2 separate regions of the Homo sapiens genome follow, and region 1 is linked to region 2. Evidence: promoter capture Hi-C in human tissues and cell types (Jung and others, 2019). All regions are on one chromosome and are shown on one strand. Each heading gives the region's core, a stretch centred on a gene start or on the middle of the fragment in contact. The rest is flanking DNA. Distances are from core to core; before and after follow the strand shown.

Evidence for each region. The method cuts DNA at HindIII sites, captures the fragments that hold promoters and counts their contacts. A contact is called where the count stands out against the background at its distance.
Region 1: a fragment that was not itself captured here is called in contact with the fragment with the promoter of TLR3 in region 2 in 1 of the 25 tissues and cell types used here (mesenchymal stem cells).

What each region holds. Positions count from the first base shown.
Region 1 is chr4:185,713,526-185,718,079 of GRCh38, forward strand. The region is part of intron 3 of SORBS2 (sorbin and SH3 domain containing 2); the gene reads right to left. Among named protein-coding and RNA genes, the nearest start is that of SORBS2, 96 kb to the right of the region's middle. The HindIII fragment of the contact is 5,882 bases long and covers 1-4,501 here.
Region 2 is chr4:186,067,019-186,071,310 of GRCh38, forward strand. TLR3 (toll like receptor 3) reads left to right here and starts at 2,138. Exons shown (of 5, transcript NM_003265.3): 1 at 2,138-2,230. The HindIII fragment of the contact is 6,210 bases long and covers 1-4,292 here.

The sequences.
Region 1 (4,554 bases), core at 311-2,810, 350 kb before region 2:
CAGTCCACGTACTGGCATCGTGTGGCTCTACACAGGGTAGTTAGGGGAAGGGATGAGTATTACAAGTTGCTGAAAACAATATATACTTTTTTCCTTTAGCAAATGCAAAGAGGTAGTCAGCTTCACCACTTAGGCAAATGCAGAAATATTGCTGCTGTGGAAAAGGGTGCAAGAGAAAGTCAGAGTGAAACAAATCGGTGCTTTATAATTTAGTGAGTAGAATCTGTAATCATTACTATAATTTAATCATTACTATCATTTAGTTTCCCACTGTCATGATATTGCAGCCTGGTACACATTAATATTGCCATATGTTCATACTGCACACCATTATTTGCCTTTGTCGTTTTGTGTGAAACTAGACAAACATCACAATCTGACTTTGGACTCTGACCATTAGCATTGATTTCAAACAGTGCTGAGGCAATTCTGTGAAATATGGAATCACCACCACTACACAGGATCTTAAACTTCAATTCTAGAAATGGGATGGAACAGCTACCCACCTATCCTTAAGTATAATGAAAAAATTACTTTCCTGGTGATAACATAACCTTCATTATTTAAGTGGATATATGGTTGATTTTCTATCTTACATTTAATTTCCTTGGGTTTTGTTAAAATTATGAATGATGAGGCATTGCTTTATCAAAATAATACATTTGCATTTTAACAGATTTTCTTCCATTCTTTCTAAAGGAGTATCTCAAATAATGGGAGGAGTCAGCAGGCTAGAGTGTAGGATATTTTGCAGCAGTGTCTTGCTTTCAGCTTCACGTCATCCCATTGCTCCCTCAGCCAGCCTCTGACCCTACACTTGGTCTATACCAGGTTTATATACTGAGTTTCATGGATACACTTAGGTGGCATTAAGTAGAATAATGGCAGATGTAATGTTTATATAACTTCACTTAAATTTAGTTTAGGCTTTTTTTTTTCACCTCATCAACACAGAAAACCTATAACCTAAAATTTGTGCAGAAATGTGTTTCACAACAGCAATTAGGTATACAGGTGTATTAATCTGTTCTCGCACTGCTAATAAAGACATACCTGAGACTGGGTAATTTATAAAGGAAAGAGGTTTAATGGACTCACAGCTCCACATGGCTGGGGAGGCCTCACCGTCATGGCAGAAGGCAAAGGAGGAGCAAAGTCATGTCTTCCATGGTGGCAGACAAGAGAGCATGTGCAGGGGAACTCTCCTTTATAAAACCGTCAGATCTCGTAGATGTATTCACTACCACGAGAACAGCTTGAGGGAAACCACCCCCATGATCCAATTATCTCCACCTGGCCCCACCCTTGACACATGGGGATTATTACAATTCAAGGTGAGATTTGGGTGGGGCCACAGAGCCAAACCATATCAACAGGCATGCTACCTAAACCTCTCAAATCATTTAAAAGTTTCACTTATCTTCAGAACACATGAGTCTATAAAGAAATAAGCAACTGTGTTTTGGGTTATAAGTTAAAGGCTTGTAAATCATTAAAAAGAAGACCACTTTACCATGGCATTTTTCACGACAGATTTTTTAAAAATATCAACATTTTCTCATTAATCTCCATGAATTTGTTTGCAAAGAATAAATTTACTTAATCATTAGCTTTATTCTGCTTTTGGATAGCATGACTAAATAAGTTGCCTAAACTGAAAGAGTGATGTTAAGACTAAAAGTAGAAGTTATCAGTATTTATGCTGATGTAACAGGCATAAAATGGGATTATGCCAGGCAATAAGGCGAAAAAGAGATGATGTAACAAAATTCCTTCTATTTTGATATTAATTTAGTCTCCAGCAATTTATAGCTTTTCTCTCCAAGAAACACCACTCCTGTACCCCAAGGAGATAGTAAAGTTGAGAAAAGCCCTATGAAAAGGCCAAAGGAACAGACACGAAATAAAAAATAAAATAAATATTTAGTTTAAAAAATAAAAAGAAATAATTTAACCTAGAATAATTAAGACTAAAGAAACATGAGACTGAAAATTTAAAATCAGAAAAAAACTGGTAAAGTTAACTCTATTTTTCCCTAAGCCCTAACTTACCAGGATTAAAAGACACTCCATTATATTTCAAAATTGTTTTTGATAGAAATAGATTAAAAAGTACTTTATGTAGCGAGTAGAACATTTCTGGAACTCAACAACTTGAAATACAACAGACCAAAAATGTAGACAGAATCTAAATCCTTTAGAAATATGCAGGAGTGACAGCTCCATCCATGTTTTCCTCCCTCGACTACAAGTGGCTTAAAGACAGAGGTCATAAAAAAAGAGTGAAAACTACTAAATGCTCAATAGATAAATAATAAATCTTAAGTGCTTAATAAATGTTGCTGGAATGTGTAACAGAATATTCTGAAAGGAAGGCTATTCTTAACAGTCATGCCCACTGTGCCATGTCCTACAATGTGACTGCTGGAGAGAGATTAGAAGTAACATCTTTTTCTATGGCAAGCCACACAGTCAGAGACCTAAGAGAAAGTAGTCCTCTTCCTCTTCTAATAAATAGAAATAGACAGTTCCTATATCATCAGAGGATTTCATAGAAAAAGTATTTCATAACGAAGGCTTATGATCCTGATTATGGGCTACTTTTAAGAACTGTGGCATCACCTGCTGCTCAACTCCCAGACAGAGATGGGCGTGGTCTCCCGTAACACCTGCTGCTGGGGCAGGCTGGCGAGGTAGTCAAGAGTGTAGATGCTGGAGCCAAGCCAGCTTTGTGAAAAGCCCATTCTACCATATCCAGATGGATCACTTCAGAAAGTGACTTATCCTCTCTCTGAACCTGCCCACATTTCCTCCTCTAGAAACAGGGATAACAACGGTGCCAACCTCCTGGGGTGGCTGAAGGACCCAGTGGATGCGTATACACGAAGCACTTAGAAGTGAGTCTGGCAGGTACTGCCAAAAATGTGACTCCTGCTGCTATTAAACAGGGGATGTTGCCTTGGCACCGACAGGTGTGACTAGCGGTTGAAATATTTCAGATACGGGGCCCCTTCTTGCCTTGGTCCCTCATTCAAATGAATTCACGAATCAGGTTTTCTCTTGTATAAATGAGTTTTTTTTAAGGGCGTCTACTAAATCTTGGTTTGAAGGATGAATTCTTCTGGGCTCACATTTGCTTCTTTACTCCACAGATGGTGGAGTAAAATCTGTGTTCATTGCACCTTCCGCTGGTGCTTTAGGCTCCAGGAGCAGCAGCTCCCTGGATTGAGTGGGAGCCAGTTCTGCCTGACTGGTCTCACCAGCACACCAGACTGCGCAGGCGGGTCAGAGGCCCACGGGGAGGAAACATCAGTGGAGGGAGGATGCTGTGAGCGGTCCACCCCTGCATGACAGATGTCCCTTTACAGAAAAGAAGTGGGAAACAGACTTTGGCAAAGGGAAACGGCAGAGTAGCAAGATGATTTTGATTACTAGTGACATTTAATTGCAATTAGATTTTTAACCACAACCAAGAAGATGATAAAGCTTTTCCATGTATTTTCCATAAAACTGTCCGAGCTTAGGACACTTTAGTGCTCATTCTTCCTGCAACACTACCCACCACAGGTTCACTGTATTGGAAGTATACTGAGAAGAGCTCGTGGCTGGCGTGGGAGCGCCGCTGTCTTCAAACCTGGAAGTGAAGTGCACCCACACCCAGCCACAGCAGTGATTCCCCGGGAGCGACCTTCAGGGAGTTGCTAGGAGATGGCCGCTCTGTGTTTCCTTTGATTATAGGGCATAACCCTGCCACTGTCAAAATGCCAGAAGAAAAGGGCAGTGATTGCTGGACATAATTTTTTTCTGTTACTTCCTGTGAGATATTGTTTTGCACAAAGGGAGGAGACTAAGGGAGCCATGGATATCTCTGTAGCAGAAACATGGCAACTATTATCTGAGGAAGGCCGACATCCTCCAATAGCGATCCTGTGTGCAACGCGTATTATTTGCTTCTTCAAATTGAGTCGTATCTTTCAGTAATTTCTTAAGACGCTAGACGGTATTACACATAGGCATGGGGGGTGGCTTGTGGTTTAAAAGCAGGGCTTACACATATAGGTAGAAGCCGCATGTGGTCAAAGGAGATAAAGTACCACAAACTGAGGAGTGTAGTTAGCTGGGCGCCCTGGATTGAGGTAAAGTAGAAAAAGACTGTGATACTTCTGAGCCCAAGACATTTCACTCTGCCACACTATCTCCTGTATATGCAGTTATTAGATAGACAATTCTTTTTCCGTGACAGCCAATATCAGGTAGGGCTTAAAAGTCACAATCTGGGTTTACAACACAACTCTTCTGCTTATTAGCCGCATGACCTGGGGTGAGTTACTTTCTCTCTCTGTGCCTTGGTTTCTACAACTATAAAACCGAAATACGTTACAGTAAGCACTTGATAGGATCACCGTGAGAATGGAATGAAATCATATATGTATGGCCGGGCGCAGTGGCTCACGCCTGCAACCCCGACACTTTGGGAGGTGGACCACTTGAGGTCAGGAGTTCCAGAACAGCCTGGCCAACATGGTGCAACCCCATCTCTACTACAAATACAAA
Region 2 (4,292 bases), core at 888-3,387:
GTGAAATATCAGTGTTTACTAAATTTGTTATTTTACATTTATGGGCATACATTTTTTTTTAATTCTCTCTCTCTCTTTTTTTGAGACAGGGTCTCCCTCTGTTACCCAGGCTGGAGTGCAGTGGCGCACTCATGACTCAATGCAAACTTGAATTTGCCTGGACTCAAGTGATCCTCCCACCTCAGCCTCCCAAGTAGCTGAGACTATAGGCATGCACCAACATGCCCAGCTAATTTTTGTAATTTTTGTAGAGATGGAGTTTTACCACGTTGCCCAGGTTGGTCTTGAACTCCTAGGCTCAAGCAATCTCCTAAAGTGTTGGGATTACAGGCATGATCCACTGCTCCCAGCCTTAATTCTTTTAAAAAGGGGAAAAATGAGGTTTTTCACTATTGCTCCAATCACCATCATAGCTAAATAAGTTAATGCACATAGTTAAGAAATGTACAGTAGAGAGAAAACAATCTGTGTTGTATTTAGAAACTAGCAAGAATTAAGGACTAATAATATCTGAATATGAACTGGTATTAAGCCCAAACTACTGCATCAGGAGACCATCAATAAAATTTATTTATCGAGAGCCATTCATTAGTCAACCAAAGTCGTGGGAAATTTAATCTGTATAAGGAGTCATAAGGCATAAGGGATAGGTATGAAGGATTGTTGAGATGATGTGTTTTATTTCGCTAATAATGCATATGACACCATTCCAATTTTTTTAAATTTAAAACAACAATCATTTATTTGCTTGCTTCTCAAGCCTGGGTAATCGTGTTTGGCAATGAGACCTTGTTGCATGCTTGCTAATATCCCACTGGTCAAAGCTAGTCAAATGGCCAAGCCTAGAGTCAGCGTGGGAGAAGGCCACACAAGGGTTTGAATTCTGAGGACGAGTCTCTTTCATTGAAGGCCAAAGAAACAGTCTACCTCAGAGGGTTGCTGGGGAGCTATAATGCAAAGAATAAACCTCACCCTGCCTTCAAGGCGCTCACAGAGAAGAAATCTTTTGAATATTAGTGAAGTTTTCCTGGACATCCCAATGGATAGATGTGAGGGACAGTCACGTACTCAGGACATCTGTTTGCTTATGGTGTTATGTTACAGATGTCACAAATGAAAATCAGAGACATGTAGCCCTGAGCCCAGTAACTATAAAGCGGTCTAGCTGAAGCTGGAGCCCACAAGAGGGCACTTTGCACCATGATGCACGCTTGTTTCTTGCCATCAGCTCTGCAATGAGTTCAAGCTAATGCCATGTCCCAGCCGTCCAGTTGTTTTATGACTTGTGTGATTGAAGCATATGGTGGCTTGTGGCATGTTCTTAGGCAAACCACTCACCTCCCTAGGTTTCGTTTTCCTAATTTCTCAAACAAGGGAGTTAGATTAGGTGGTCTATAGTTCCTTCCAATTGTGATATTTCACTATATAACAATATAGTTATAATAGATCATAGCACATCTGTAATGAAAAAAAGTGAGTTCATTTCTTAACAAGTACATTTACTTAACTAGTTGGAGTCATTAAAGCAAATTAAGAACGAAATTCTTAGTTAATCTGAACTTTTCTGGGCATACTGATCTGTTCCCTAACGCGTCTGACCGTGGAAAAGTGGATCAGCAGGAGTGGGACTGGCTCTCAGCTTTGCCATGTTTGGCTCTTTCTCTGCTGTGAAACTCAGTTTCTTCCTGGATCAAGAGGTTAATTTCTGCCGGTGTTATTTTACAGTGTTGCAAAGAGATAAAAGCCAGACGAAAGAAGGGAAAGTACTTCAGCTTTGATTAGGGATTTTTTTTTCTGTCCCTGTGACCATACACTACTCAATTCTGACAGCTTCGCATGAGTCTAGCAGAAAATTGAGGGATTCACTGTTATTCCTTAACTTGCAGAGGTCCAGACCCGCCCACATCAAATGGTGAGGTCCCCACTTTCAACTTTAGCTGTTGCTAAATCTGTGACCCTTTCAATGAAATCCAAGGATCTCAGCTTAAAAAAAGTTAAAATAAAATAAAAACTAGGTGTTTTTCAGAGGCGGTTTGAAACGCCTCTCTGAGGTTGTCAGAGATTGTTTTTGTTTTCTCCCTTTGCCCTTCTTGGAATGCACCAAACATAAAAGCATTTTTTTTCAAGCTTTACTTTCACTTTCGAGAGTGCCGTCTATTTGCCACACACTTCCCTGATGAAATGTCTGGATTTGGACTAAAGAAAAAAGGAAAGGCTAGCAGTCATCCAAGTAAGTGAAGGTGTTCATTTCACGTTCTTACTGGGCAGGGTCTCTCTTGCTGAGTAGAGTTTGCTAGCAGAATGCATGTGGTTTTAGCCTTCTTTGGTCTTTCTTTGATCTGGTGCTTGAAATCTAGTCAGAATTATTCAGGAAGGAAAGTGGAAGAAAAGGGATATGATATGGGCATGGGAGAAGGGTATAACTCAGAACACAAGTAATAGCACCAATATCTAGTTAATGTGATAATGTATTTATGCAGTATTTAATTTTTTTCTCTGTAGCATTCTGTACCTGGAAAAAACACATTAGGGAAGCTATGGAAATCATTTTGCAACAGTCTTTTTAGCAAATCACATCTTTGCCTTAAAGAAACAAAACTCCAAGAGGTTAAAAGAGCGTATCCCCTTTTGTTAGTTTTATTGGCTGGAGGGGAGACAGGAGCTGGCATTGTATGACAATGTCTTAGATAGGAGAGAACATTCAGGTATGCCTAGGAGTAAGTAAATGGCTTTCTTTCACCTAATGAAGGATAATGGAAGAAGTGGAGAAGTGGAAAGTTGTTAAGGTGTATGGGAAGATCAGAAACTGGTATCGGCAATTGTGGGGTACTCGGGTAAAAATGGAGTTGGCTTCAGCAAGTTGATTCCCAGGTTTACAGATGATTACGTGCTGGTATGTGTCTTCATATGGGCGTGCCTGTGTATGAACCTACTACAAAGGTTGCAAAGTTTACAAATCAAACTATGGATAGTGGTTAACTCCAGGTAGTCTGCCTCCAGACCCCATGTCCTAACCATCAGGCAATATTGTCTCTCACTTGGACAAAGAATGTGAATTCCATGTGCCCTCACAAAATATTTCCAAAATTCTAAGGCTGAGTGAGTCTCTTTTTAATTTTTTTTCATTTTCTTTATTTCTGCTAGATCTCATTCAACAGCAACGTTTTCTTCACTCTCATTTCATCCTTTAACTGCATTTTTGCTTGTTTTACTGAAGCATGTCCTAGAATAACCTTTTCATACAGATCGTATGGCTATAAACTTACTGAATTTTTGCATATCTCAAAATACTTATACCTTTTTATTTAGTTATTCAGATGGATGTGAAATTTCCCTATCTTATTTTATTTTATTTTATTTCATTTTATTTCATTTATCGATTTAGAGACAAGGTCTCGCTGTGTTGCCCAGGCTGAAGTACAGTGGCATGATCGTGGCTCACTGCAGCCTTGACCTCCCTGGCTCAAGCAATTCTCACACCTCAGTGTCACGAGTAGCTGGGACCACAGGTGTGAACCACTATGGCCAGCTAATTTAAAAAAAAATTTTGGTGGAGATGAGGTTTCCCTGTGTTGCCCAGGCTGGTCCCAAACTCCTAGGCTCAAGGGATCCTCCAGCCTCAGCTTCCTAAAGTGATGGGATTACAGGCATGAGCCACAGGTAATTTTCTTGGCCTGGTCAAAGGTAATTTTCTTGTTTTTTAGAGGTAAGGTCTTGCTCTGTTGCCCAGGCTGGAGTGCAGTGGTGTGATCATGATTCATTGCAGCCTTAACCTCCTGGGCTCAAGCGATCCTCCTGCCTCAGCCTCCCAAGTAGCTGGAACTACAGGCTTGTGCCACCACACTTGGCTACTTTCTAAAATATTTTTGTAGATACGGGGTCTCACTATGTTGCCCAGGCTGGTGTTGAGCTCCTGATCTCCTTCTGCCTACACCTTCTAAAGTGCCGGGATTGTGGGGATGAGCCACTATGCTTTGCCTGGATATGAAATTTTAAATTCAAAATAATTTTCTCTAAATGTTTGGAAAGCTTATCTCTATTGTTTTCCAGTGGTTCATGTTACTGATGAAAAGTTTTTTATTAATCAAGATCTCTTTTCTTTGGAAATGAAGGTTTTAGGATTTTTGTGTGCATGGTTGCAATTCTGAAATTTCATAGGAGTCTCTCCAAGTTTGTTCCTCTTTCACTCCTCCTGCCTAGCATTTGGTGAGTTTTGCCCACTGATGAAATGTCTTCAGATGGGGCAAGTCCTTAAGTCATTCAGGGATATGCTTTGTAATGGATTAGTCCTT